Regions from separate parts of the Homo sapiens genome. Here region 1 is linked to region 2. Evidence: promoter capture Hi-C in 16 types of primary human blood cells and fetal thymus (Javierre and others, 2016). All regions are on one chromosome and are shown on one strand. The core of a region is centred on a gene start or on the middle of the fragment in contact, and the rest is flanking DNA. Distances in the headings are between cores, read along the strand shown.

Region 1 (5,930 bases), core at 3,431-5,930, 120 kb after region 2:
AATTGGGTGGAGCCCCTGACCTCGGATGGGTTGGGATGCTGGGCAGGAACAGTGCCCCCCACCCCAGGTAGACTGCTGGGTGTGGATTGGCACCAAATGAAAGCAAGCCGGCGTTGTGTTCTGAGAAGTGATGGACACCTTCTGTGGTAGCAGGATGGCGCTGTACCTGCCACTCTGGGAATGTGTCCAGGCCTGGCTCTCCCGCTCTGCTCTGAGCTGCATGGCCTCTGGAGGCCTGCTAGGTGGCCAGCCTGCCTGCCTCACCCAGGCCATTGGGCCCAAAGGCACGGGGGTTCTAAGGAGCCATGGAGCCTGTGCAGGGATGGTTGCGTCCATGGGTGCCTCCCCTTTCAGAGGGCCCAGGAAGCAGAACTGGGCCAGGCAGGGAGAACCTTCTCACCCAAAGTAAGGTGTCTTCAGCCAGCGCTGGGGCTGAGGCTGGGGTGGGAGTGGGGTCGGGGCTGGGGCTGGGGTGGGAATGGGGCCAGGGCAGAGTGTTCTGGCATTAGCCACATGAGCCAGGCTGGCCCTGGGGCCTCTCATTGCTAAGCTCCCTCCACCCTTGTCTGCCTCTCTTCTGTCTCAAGCTTATGGTGACCTCAAGCCAGGCTCTGAGCTTCACATATCTTAGGCCATTTCACCCCTACGGCCCTAGGGGGTGGGCAGGATCACCCTGTGTTGCAGATGAGCGCCCCGGGGCTCTGGGCCGGTAAGTGACCGGCCCAAAGTCATTCTAATGCAATGTGCAGAGGCCACCTGACTCCACAGCCCATGCCCCCTCCCTTTGAGACTGGGAACCCTCTCCCCTGTTGCACCCCCTCCGCCCTCCTTGTCTGTCCTGGCTGCCCCCTGAGTGCGCCCAGTGCTGGCTGCCTCGGGAGTGTGGGCTGTGCCTGCCACGGAGTGGCTCTCAGCGGAACTGCAGCCTGCAGCAGCTGGGTCCTTCGTCTCTGCCCTGGGGAGCTGGGGCCACTGGCAGGAGCCAGGGCGAGTCGGTGGGAGAAGGGAGCAGAGCGAGGGCCTGGGGGTCTGGAGTAGGTGGCACTGGGGCAAGTGAAGGGACTCCCATCCCCCCATAACCCAGCCAGTGGTGGGATGGAGTCTGGCTGGGAGGCCTGGCTGAAGAGCTGGGAGCAGGTGATGTGGCAGTTCACCGAAGCCCCAGCCGACGCGGCAGGGTGGTTGCAGGCAGTGCCTCTGAGAGCCCAGGCCTATCTGGGGCCCCTACTTTCCTTCCTTCCACATCCCCTTGATGATCGCTAGATCTCCCCCGCCCCAGCCCCTGCCATCAGGCAGGGCTCCAGTTCACATTTTTTGAATAACCAGGCCTTTGACAGGGTTATTTTGAAAGGAAAAATTTCTTGAATCTCGACAAAGGAAGAGGGCCAGCAGTCACTCCTCTCTCTCTCTCTCTCTCTCTCTCTGTCTCTCGTGTGTGTGTGTAAGTGTGAGTTACAGGCTTGTGCTGTGAGGTGGCGTATACCTAGAGTTTCTGCGACCCTGGCAGGGGATTTTGAGATGTGGGGTCCTGGACTGGGTGGGCTTCAGAATGCCATTCTGGGCTGTCTTGCTGAGCAGCTTGAGCTGAAGAGGGGACGGGCTGCTGAGGTCTCAAGGTTGGAATTTCTGGGGCCCTGTGTTGGGGACAGTCTCCAGCCCATTCTGAAGTTTGAGTCCATCTTGGCTCCAGACTCTAGACTTCTCTGAGGCAAGCTCCCTGGTGGAGGACTTAGGTTCGAGGGCCTGGCTGGCTGTGGTCCCTGGGGTGGGTGCTGGGGTCTCTTGGGCTAAGGCTTCCTGGTCTCCAGCCTCTCCTCAGTCCTGGTGAGGCGCATCCCTGTTCAGGCCGCTGCCGGCCATCACCATATTAGGGCATAAACTCCAGGCAGGCTGTCTGGGTGCCAAATGGTCTCCAGCTGGGCCCAGCCCCCTGCAGCTTCCAACACCACTGCTGTGTGTCAGAGGCCAGAGGTCAGGGGACAAGAGTGGCTGCTGCAGGGAGACCCAGACAGAGCCCCAGAGCTCAGGGCCCTCGGGCGGGGCTGTGAGGGTCTGGGATGTGGTGAGTGGAAGAGCTGTGGGGTGGGGCGGAGAGTTCCTGGCCAGCCCCTTCACCTAGTGCCATCCTGTTTAAGCTGGTTTCAGAAGACCTCGTTCCCCTAGATGAATCCCCAGCGGGTTAGAATCCCCGAGCCTGGCCAGCATCTGCCATGCATCAGGCCCTTCCCACCTGGCCTGCTCCCTGCCTCCCCAGCACGCAGCCCCTTGACCTCACTGTCAGGCTTCAAGCACCAGCTCCAAGTCCCAGGGGTGGCGTCGCCTCCAGGTTGCCGGTGTCTGTTGCCGGCTTCTACCTTGACTCACAGCACCACCACTGTCGCCCCTGCTGTGGGTTTGAGATCAGGAGTAGGGGTGAGCCAGGGAGGCTCTAGGAGGTAGAAAGGTGAGGAGAGGCTGGGTGCGGTGGCTCACACCTGTAATCCTTGCACTTTGGGAGGCCGAGGCAGGCAGATCACTTGAGGCCAGGAGTTTGAGACCAGCCTGGCCAACACAGTGAAAACCCTGTCTCTATCAAAATATACAAAAGTTAGCTGGGTGTGGTAGCATGCAGCTGTAGTCCCAGCTACTTGGGAGGCTGAGGCAGGAGAATCACTTGGACCTGGGAGGCAGAGGTTGCAGTGAGCCAAGATCATGCCGCTGCACTCCACCCTGGGTGACAGAGTGAAACCCTGTCTCAGAAAAAAAAAAAAAAAAAAAGTGAGGCTGGGTTGCTAAGATGGAGTGGGACTGCATGGTTTGTCACCCTTGCCTCTCCCCCATGCCTGCAGCCTCCCTGTCAGCATGGCCTGTCACTGACACCACCAGCCAGTGCTGGCCCCAGGGCGTATGACTCTAGGTGCTAGGCACTAACGTGGGGACGGGAGACACTGGGAGGCAGAGAAGACAGCTGAGCAGAGGGGGAGCTGAGAGGAAGGAAGAGGCTCCCTAGGGAGAGTGGGAGATGAGGAGCCTGCCTGGTGGGTCCCTGGGGGGCCATAGAGGAGCTGGAGCGGGCTGTTAACTGCCTTCTGGTTTCATTAAGGACTTCCTGTGGGCAGGAGGTTCTGAGCTGGGCCTTAGGTGGAACTGAGTGCTTGGCCTAAAAGGGGCTCCTTCAGAAATCAGCACGGGTTGGGGGGCGGGGGGCGGTGGGGCAGCAGGGGGCCCATGTGCTCAACAGGGAGCTGAGGGAGACCAGGGGTGCTTGGCTTAGGGGACTGACCTCATCTGGTACAGGGCCTTTGGTGGACAGAGAGAGACTGGAAAAGAAAAAGTCAAGGATCGAGGGGAACGCGAGGCGAGGTGAAGATGAAAGATCTAGAAGCAGTGCTTCTTAGACTCTTTGGTGAAGGATCAGTGTTTTTTAATGCTAATATGTTATAGGCTGGTACATCTGTGAAATACAAGAGCACATGCGTGGATTTTGTGGTGATGCCAAATTGCTGTAAAGTTTTTGAAATTCTTGCTCTCAACGTCTGTCCTTATCTTGTGTGCTGACACAACGGCTGGTGCTAATCTAGAGAGAACAGAGAGACAGATAGTAACAGCTAACCGTCTGTAGTGTGCGGCATACGCCAGGCATTGCCTAAGCGCTCAGCATGTGCTGACTTGGTTAATCTTTATAACTCATGAGAAAAGAATTATATACATTATGTGTATCACAACATCACTGTGTACCCCATAAATATGTACAATTATTGTGTCAATTAAAAAGTTAAAAAATTTTAAAAAGAAAAAATTATTATTCTTCCCATTTTATAGATGGAAAAAATGAGGCACAAGGATGTTAAATAATTTAGGAAAAAAGCATAAGTGATTAAGCAGCAGATCCGGGCTATGAACCCAGAGATCGTAGGCCTAAAGTCTGTGGGCTTAAGCACTGTGCTACAGCGCCTCGCTTGAGGGAAAGGCAGAGGTGCTGGGAGGATATGAGGAAATGAGATAGGGAGGAAATGAGATCAAAGATGGCAGAAGAAAGGATCATAGCCAGCGTGAGAAAAAGTGCAGCCGGGAAAGAGCTAGATAAATCATATAGGCAGAGAGAGGGGTAGGGGAGCCTGGCAGCAACAAGCTGGGGTAGACAGATTGAGGGGAGCCATAAGGGCGGCAGGCACATGGCCGGGTGGGGGATCAGGACGGGAGATCCCGGAGAGGAAGGGCCATACGGGGAGGCAGAAGTGGACGGGCCCACTTGGGTTCCAGGGTCCATCCTGCGTGGCTTTCTGCTCTGCCCACTGAGTGGGTGCCAAGGGGGCTATGTCCTCCCACTCTGCAGGGAGCTGCTTCCTATGTCTGGTGGATGTGGTGCCCGTGAAGAACGAGGATGGGGCTGTCATCATGTTCATCCTCAATTTCGAGGTGGTGATGGAGAAGGACATGGTGGGGTCCCCGGCTCATGACACCAACCACCGGGGCCCCCCCACCAGCTGGCTGGCCCCAGGTAAGTGTACTTGCTTTAGGGCAGGCTCAGGGGTTCGTGGTCTCATTTCTTTGGGGCTGTGAGCTGTCCAAGGTCAACGCTCTGCAGGAAGGGAGGATGTAATGGTTGGGTGGGGGGTCCCCCCTTTGGAGGTGGGAAGTGAACCCTGTACCCTGAGGATGTGGCTTGGTTCCCCTGGCCCAGGATGGACACATAGGGGTGGAATGACAGGGCCCAGAATCACAGGTCCTTGGCGTGGGCTAGCACCGTTTCCCTAGCTTCATCTGTTGGGCTTCCCATCCCAGCATCCCCTGGGAGCGGTCCTCTCTCCAGCCTGGCTTGAGCAGCCCAGGGTGGGGAACATGACCACCTGGGAGCAGCTCCTCCCCTCAGTAGGAAGCTGTGTCCTATGGACTCAGCTGTGTGTAGTTTCTTTCATCTGCTCCTTGTTCATGGACTGGCCAAGTTTCCTGGGGGTCTGGGCTAGCTGAGGAGAGGCTTTGAGGGAATGCCCACCTGGGCTGGACCATCCCCTTGACAACAAAGGCTCGGAGCCCCTTCCTCTGTCAGGATGCCCTCTTTGGCTTAATTTTAATCTTTCCCTCAGCATCATGACAAAAGTGCTCACCTCTTGGTTTCTTACACTCTAAAATGACAGTGTCAGTAAAACTGGCCCTACCTGCTCATCGGATGCCACCCCTGACGGCAGGGCCCCTGGCATTGTGTCGCCCACTTAGGCGCAGGCCCCACGCACTGGCTGTGTGACCTCCAGAGAGTGACATGACGCCTTTGTGTCCACACTTCCTCATGTCTAAAATGGGGACGCTGGCACCCAGCGGCCGGTGTGAGAGACAGGGATGATTTATGGAATCCGCCCTGAAGTGTCACTTCAGATATGGCGGTTTATGATGACTGGATTCTAGAATGATTTTTGAGACTCGAGGTCAAAATATTGTGAATGGAAGTGGGGATGGGGGGTTGCCCGTTCCCCTCCTTCCCTTACCCAGCGGCTGGGGGTCCATTTCCCAGGCCTTGCCCGCTCCGGGGCTGCTCGCGATCCCCACGACCACGTGCCTCTCCTCTCCCGCAGGCCGCGCCAAGACCTTCCGCCTGAAGCTGCCCGCGCTGCTGGCGCTGACGGCCCGGGAGTCGTCGGTGCGGTCGGGCGGCGCGGGCGGCGCGGGCGCCCCGGGGGCCGTGGTGGTGGACGTGGACCTGACGCCCGCGGCACCCAGCAGCGAGTCGCTGGCCCTGGACGAAGTGACAGCCATGGACAACCACGTGGCAGGGCTCGGGCCCGCGGAGGAGCGGCGTGCGCTGGTGGGTCCCGGCTCTCCGCCCCGCAGCGCGCCCGGCCAGCTCCCATCGCCCCGGGCGCACAGCCTCAACCCCGACGCCTCGGGCTCCAGCTGCAGCCTGGCCCGGACGCGCTCCCGAGAAAGCTGCGCCAGCGTGCGCCGCGCCTCGTCGG
Region 2 (5,623 bases), core at 308-2,807:
CCAGGGGCAGAGACCCCCAGCCTGAGACACAGAGGTCAAGCTGCACAGCCAGAGCCCAGCACGGGGTTCACAGCAACACCGCCAGCCCCGGACTCCCCGCAGGAGCCCCTCGTGCTACGGCTGAAATTCCTCAATGATTCAGAGCAGGTGGCCAGGGCCTGGCCCCACGACACCATTGGCTCCTTGAAAAGGTAAGTAGGTCAAGAGGCAGGAGCAATGCTAAAGACAGGGGTTGGGAGAGTGGTCGCAGAAGGCCCCCAGAGACACCTAAGACCCAGCCCTCCTTTATACTGGAGGCGCTGAGCGCCCCAGATCACAACTGTACTTGTTCCCCTGGCAGACGGCCCCTCCCAGGCCAGGGCCGGTGTGTTGTGGAGGGCAGGGGGAGGGTGGGAGTGCTGTTCCGGGGCCAGGGACTAGGATTGCCTGAGGCCTGCTCTCTTACCCAGGTCCCTCTCTCCTCAGGACCCAGTTTCCCGGCCGGGAACAGCAGGTGCGACTCATCTACCAAGGGCAGCTGCTAGGCGACGACACCCAGACCCTGGGCAGCCTTCACCTCCCTCCCAACTGCGTTCTCCACTGCCACGTGTCCACGAGAGTCGGTCCCCCAAATCCCCCCTGCCCGCCGGGGTCCGAGCCCGGCCCCTCCGGGCTGGAAATCGGCAGCCTGCTGCTGCCCCTGCTGCTCCTGCTGTTGCTGCTGCTCTGGTACTGCCAGATCCAGTACCGGCCCTTCTTTCCCCTGACCGCCACTCTGGGCCTGGCCGGCTTCACCCTGCTCCTCAGTCTCCTGGCCTTTGCCATGTACCGCCCGTAGTGCCTCCGCGGGCGCTTGGCAGCGTCGCCGGCCCCTCCGGACCTTGCTCCCCGCGCCGCGGCGGGAGCTGCTGCCTGCCCAGGCCCGCCTCTCCGGCCTGCCTCTTCCCGCCGCCCTGGAGCCCAGCCCTGCGCCGCAGAGGACTCCCGGGACTGGCGGAGGCCCCGCCCTGCGACCGCCGGGGCTCGGGGCCACCTCCCGGGGCTGCTGACCCTCAGCCCGCACTGGGAGTGGGCTCCTCGGGGTCGGGCATCTGCTGTCGCTGCCTCGGCCCCGGGCAGAGCCGGGCCGCCCCGGGGGCCCGTCTTAGTGTTCTGCCGGAGGACCCAGCCGCCTCCAATCCCTGACAGCTCCTTGGGCTGAGTTGGGGACGCCAGGTCGGTGGGAGGCTGGTGAAGGGGAGCGGGGAGGGGCAGAGGAGTTCCCCGGAACCCGTGCAGATTAAAGTAACTGTGAAGTTTTCACTCTTGCAGTGTGTCTGAGTGTGTGCGGGCTGGCGGGCGGGGAGTCCTCGCCCCTTGGGAGAGAAGGGCACGGACTGCGCCTGGGGTCTGGCCCTCCGCCTTCCCTTCTCCCCAGCGTTCTGCTCTGGCTTTGGCGCCGGCCTCCGTGGCCCCGCCCTCGGCGCCGGGCGCGCACTTCCCGCGGGCGGGGCTCGCGGCTCCCTGGCTCGCAGTGCCTGCCGGGAGCCACGTCTCCGAAGACCGATAGCTGCTTCGGGATTGGCGTCCGGGCGGCTATCTAGGGGCTGCTGGGAAGATGGCGGACTCGGTGGCTAGCCGATGAGGAGGCCGCGGGGGGAACCCGGCCCCCGGGCCCCGAGACCGACTGAGGGAGCGACCTGCGCAGGGCCCGGGGAGTCATGTAGGGGTGGCGCCTGCGGGGAGGGCTGCGGGAGGGCAGCGGGAGCTGGTGTTAGCGGCAGCGGCCACGGTCTCCTGGCGTCCCTGGGCCGGGGTGGGTGTTGGGGCCCCCGACTTCGCCGACTCCGCGCCATCGCAAAGCGGTGCACTCGGGCTCCACGCGCGCCCTGCGAGGTGGGCGCTGCGTTTTCATTTCACGGGTGAGGAGACTTAGAGAGACGAAGCCACTTGTCCAAGGTCACGCCGCTGGTGAGTGGGAGCGCCCAGCATGGAACCCAGCACCGTCCAGCCGCGGAGCCCGCGTTCCACCCTCTGTGCCGCCGCCGCCTCCTGTGGGAGAGGGAGGTGGTCGGGAGAGTGCACGCCGGTGCCGCCTGGGCTCCAGACTGGGCGCGACCACTAACCCGGTTAATGACCTCGGGCTTAACTTAACCCCTTCGCTGCTCTGGGCCTGCGTTTCTCCACCGGTGAAATGAGGTAATGCCAGCCCTGCCTACTCTTCATGGGCGTGTAAGGAGCATCAGAGATGGTGCATGTGGAATTGCTTTGCAAGTAGTGCTGCGCTGAGCGCACTGAGGATTATGATTGCTGTTTCAAAGGCGTGGAAGGAGGCAGAGGGGCGGGGTGGGGAAGAGGCCCAGAGCAGTCACAAAGGCTTGCTCTGACCACAGGCCCCCTAAATGAGGAGTGAGGTAAGCAGTAGGTAGCAGGTCTTTCTCCCCTTTGGAGAAAACCTCACCCCCTTTTTTGGGCTGCCCCTCAGGGTCTCCATCACCCAACTCCATGCTTCGAGTCCTGCTCTCTGCTCAGACCTCCCCTGCTCGGCTGTCTGGCCTGCTGCTGATCCCTCCAGTACAGCCCTGCTGTTTGGGGCCCAGCAAATGGGGGGACCGGCCTGTTGGAGGAGGCCCCAGTGCAGGTCCTGTGCAAGGACTGCAGCGGCTTCTGGAACAGGCGAAGAGCCCTGGGGAGCTGCTGCGCTGGCTGGGCCAGAACCCCAGCAAGGTGCGCGCCCACCACTACTCGGTGGCGCTTCGTCGTCTGGGCCAGCTCTTGGGGTCTCGGCCACGGCCCCCTCCTGTGGAGCAGGTCACACTGCAGGACTTGAGTCAGCTCATCATCCGAAACTGCCCCTCCTTTGACATTCACACCATCCACGTGTGTCTGCACCTTGCAGTCTTACTTGGTGAGGAGGGGCTTGAGGTGGGCGCCTGGGGGGCTAGGTGTTAATGAAGAATAGGGAGAACAGTAGAGGACCACGGACAGAGACCCAGCCTCTCAGGCGTTTGCCCAGGAACGCTTGCTCCTGCTCCCGTCCTATGTCTGCGGCAGACATCATGAGTCGAACGCACTCCTTCCGGCCTCGCTAGGGTGCCACCCCAGATTCCTGCTAATAGAGTGCCCTAGGAAGCCACCATAATTTGTCACAATTGGTATGAGATGAAAGCCTATTTGCCATCTTTGTATGTACTCCCTACAAACCGTTTCGATACCTCATAGCCACATGATACTTTACATGTCTCTAGTGTTTGCACTTAAACTCTAGCACACCTTCCCGCTCAGGAAACGGGAGAGGAGAAAGGTGGAGAATTCACCAAGTAACCCCATGATAAGAACAGCAGCACAGCTCTGTTACCAGGCTGCCTTTTACCTCTCCCCCTCAGGCTTTCCATCTGATGGTCCCCTGGTGTGTGCCCTGGAACAGGAGCGAAGGCTCCGCCTCCCTCCGAAGCCACCTCCCCCTTTGCAGCCCCTTCTCCGAGGTGGGCAAGGGTTGGAAGCTGCTCTAAGCTGCCCCCGTTTTCTGCGGTATCCACGGCAGCATCTGATCAGCAGCCTGGCAGGTGCTGGAGGGGGTTAAAATCAGATGGGGGTGGGGAGGGCTGACAGGAGGAGGAAGGTGGGCTCAGTTGGCTGGGCTGAGGTGGAATTGAGCCAGCCGGAGGTCCGGCTGAGGCCCAGCGTGACAGGCTGCTCTTCACAGAGGCAAGGCCAGAGGAACTGACTCCCCACGTGATGGTGCTCCTGGCCCAGCACCTGGCCCGGCACCGGTTGCGGGAGCCCCAGCTTCTGGAAGCCATTGCCCACTTCCTGGTGGTTCAGGAAACGCAACTCAGCAGCAAGGTGGGCTTGCCACCCACCCTCCAGTGCATCTCTGTCATTCTCAGGGACCTTGTCAGGCCCAGCGCCTCGTGCAGCTCGGCTATCCTTTTCCTGAAGCAGACACACCCTCTCTGTCCCCTGGGACCTGCATCTTTTCTACACCCTTTCTGTGGCTTGCCCACCTCCTGTCAGCAGCATGCATTCCTGGAAATCTGCAGTTTCCCAAAGCACTCTTAGCAGCATCCTAGCTCCACCCATCCCTCTCGAAGTCTTCAGGGCCAGACCCCACAGCGATGTCCCCTCTGCCTGTCTGGTGATTAGTCACGTGCAGCTCGTGACTGCTTTGCTGTTGAACTGTGAGGCCGGAGGGACTGTCCTGTCTTTACAGCAGTGTTGTAAACCTGAGGGCTAAGCCTCTCTAAGGCTTAGCTTGTAAAAGATGACTGCAGAAATACTTGACACTGGGTAATGAACTGCTCTTCCTCCACAGGTGGTACAGAAGTTGGTCCTGCCCTTTGGGCGACTGAACTACCTGCCCCTGGAACAGCAGTTTATGCCCTGCCTTGAGAGGATCCTGGCTCGGGAAGCAGGGGTGGCACCCCTGGCTACAGTCAACATCTTGATGTCACTGTGCCAACTGCGGTGCCTGCCCTTCAGAGCCCTGCACTTTGTTTTTTCCCCTGGCTTCATCAACTACATCAGTGGTACGCAGCCAGGATGGCTGGCTGGGCCCCTGAGGGCTGGAGAGGCAGGGGAGCAGGGTGGCCTGCAGCCCAGAGCCCCAGTCCCCGCCTCCCCACAGGCACCCCTCATGCTCTGATTGTGCGTCGCTACCTCTCCCTGCTGGACACGGCCGTGGAGCTGGAGCTCCCAGGATACCGGGGTCCCCGCCTTCCCCGAAGGCAGCAAGTGCCCATCTTTCCCCAGCCTCTCATCACCGACCGTGCCCGCTGCAAGTACAGGTGGATGGGGCAGCCTGGGGCAAGGGGAGGGGCCAGCCTGGGACCAGCAGAGTGGAAAAGCCAGAGGGACCATGAAGCGCCAAAGCTAAGGAGCTCTCGGCCACCATAAAACTGGGCCCTGAAGCAGCAGAGGGCTTTGCCCAGGGTGGTGGCACTAGACTGGGACAGATTAGGATGAGGTGCCGGGCCCTTCCTGCTACTGGTGTCCTTTCTCCTCAGTCACAAGGACATAGTAGCTGAGGGGTTGCGCCAGCTGCTGGGGGAGGAGAAATACCGCCAGGACCTGACTGTGCCTCCAGGCTACTGCACAGGTGAGCAAGGGGCAGGCGGCAGGCCCGGGGAGACGGAGCCCTGGCTAAGGCCGCCGGCCCTGCTCCCCTCCAGACTTCCTGCTGTGCGCCAGCAGCTCTGGTGCTGTGCTTCCCGTGAGGACCCAGGACCCCTTCCTGCCATACCCACCAAGGTCCTGCCCACAGGGCCAGGCTGCCTCTAGCGCCACTACTCGAGACCCTGCCCAGAGGTAAAGGAGGCAGGGTGGGGGAGCCCTGGCCACCTTGCCCGCCATGCCCTGAGCCACGTCCCTCCCCCTGCAGGGTGGTGCTGGTGTTGCGGGAACGCTGGCATTTCTGCCGGGACGGCCGGGTGCTGCTGGGCTCGAGGGCCCTGAGGGAGCGGCACCTAGGCCTGATGGGCTACCAGCTCCTGCCGGTGAGTGGCCCTGGCCTGGCCCGTGGCGCATCCTCACTCCCAGCCTGCGGGTAACCTGCCGCCCTCTCCTCTCCCCACAGCTACCCTTCGAGGAACTGGAGTCCCAGAGAGGCCTGCCCCAGCTCAAGAGCTACCTGAGGCAGAAGCTCCAGGCCCTGGGCCTGCGCTGG

The links. The method cuts DNA at HindIII sites, captures the fragments that hold promoters and counts their contacts. A CHiCAGO score of 5 or more calls a contact.
Region 1: a contact is called between a fragment that was not itself captured here and the fragment with the promoter of FASTK in region 2, in 1 of 17 cell types (erythroblasts). The highest score is 7.9, in erythroblasts.

Annotation. Positions count from the first base shown.
Region 1 is chr7:150,958,122-150,964,051 of GRCh38, reverse strand. KCNH2 (potassium voltage-gated channel subfamily H member 2) reads left to right here. Exons shown (of 15, transcript NM_000238.4): 3 at 4,316-4,480; 4 at 5,550-5,930. Among named protein-coding and RNA genes, the nearest start is that of KCNH2, 17 kb to the left of the region's middle. RefSeq lists enhancers at 320-929, 1-1,154, 930-1,539, 1,540-2,149, 5,808-5,930. The HindIII fragment of the contact is 8,181 bases long and covers 590-5,930 here.
Region 2 is chr7:151,076,743-151,082,365 of GRCh38, reverse strand. FASTK (Fas activated serine/threonine kinase) reads left to right here and starts at 1,557. Exons shown (of 10, transcript NM_006712.5): 1 at 1,557-1,681; 2 at 2,444-2,866; 3 at 3,345-3,524; 4 at 3,665-3,804; 5 at 4,274-4,487; 6 at 4,586-4,745; 7 at 4,965-5,056; 8 at 5,130-5,265; 9 at 5,339-5,453; 10 at 5,534-5,623. The coding sequence starts at 1,600. It overlaps TMUB1 (transmembrane and ubiquitin like domain containing 1), which reads left to right. Exons shown (of 3, transcript NM_001136044.2): 2 at 1-191; 3 at 466-1,281. The coding sequence ends at 817. RefSeq lists enhancers at 250-544, 1,262-2,237, 2,238-3,214, 4,191-5,166, 5,167-5,623 and silencers at 1,143-1,822, 5,285-5,364. The HindIII fragment of the contact is 10,653 bases long and covers 1-5,623 here.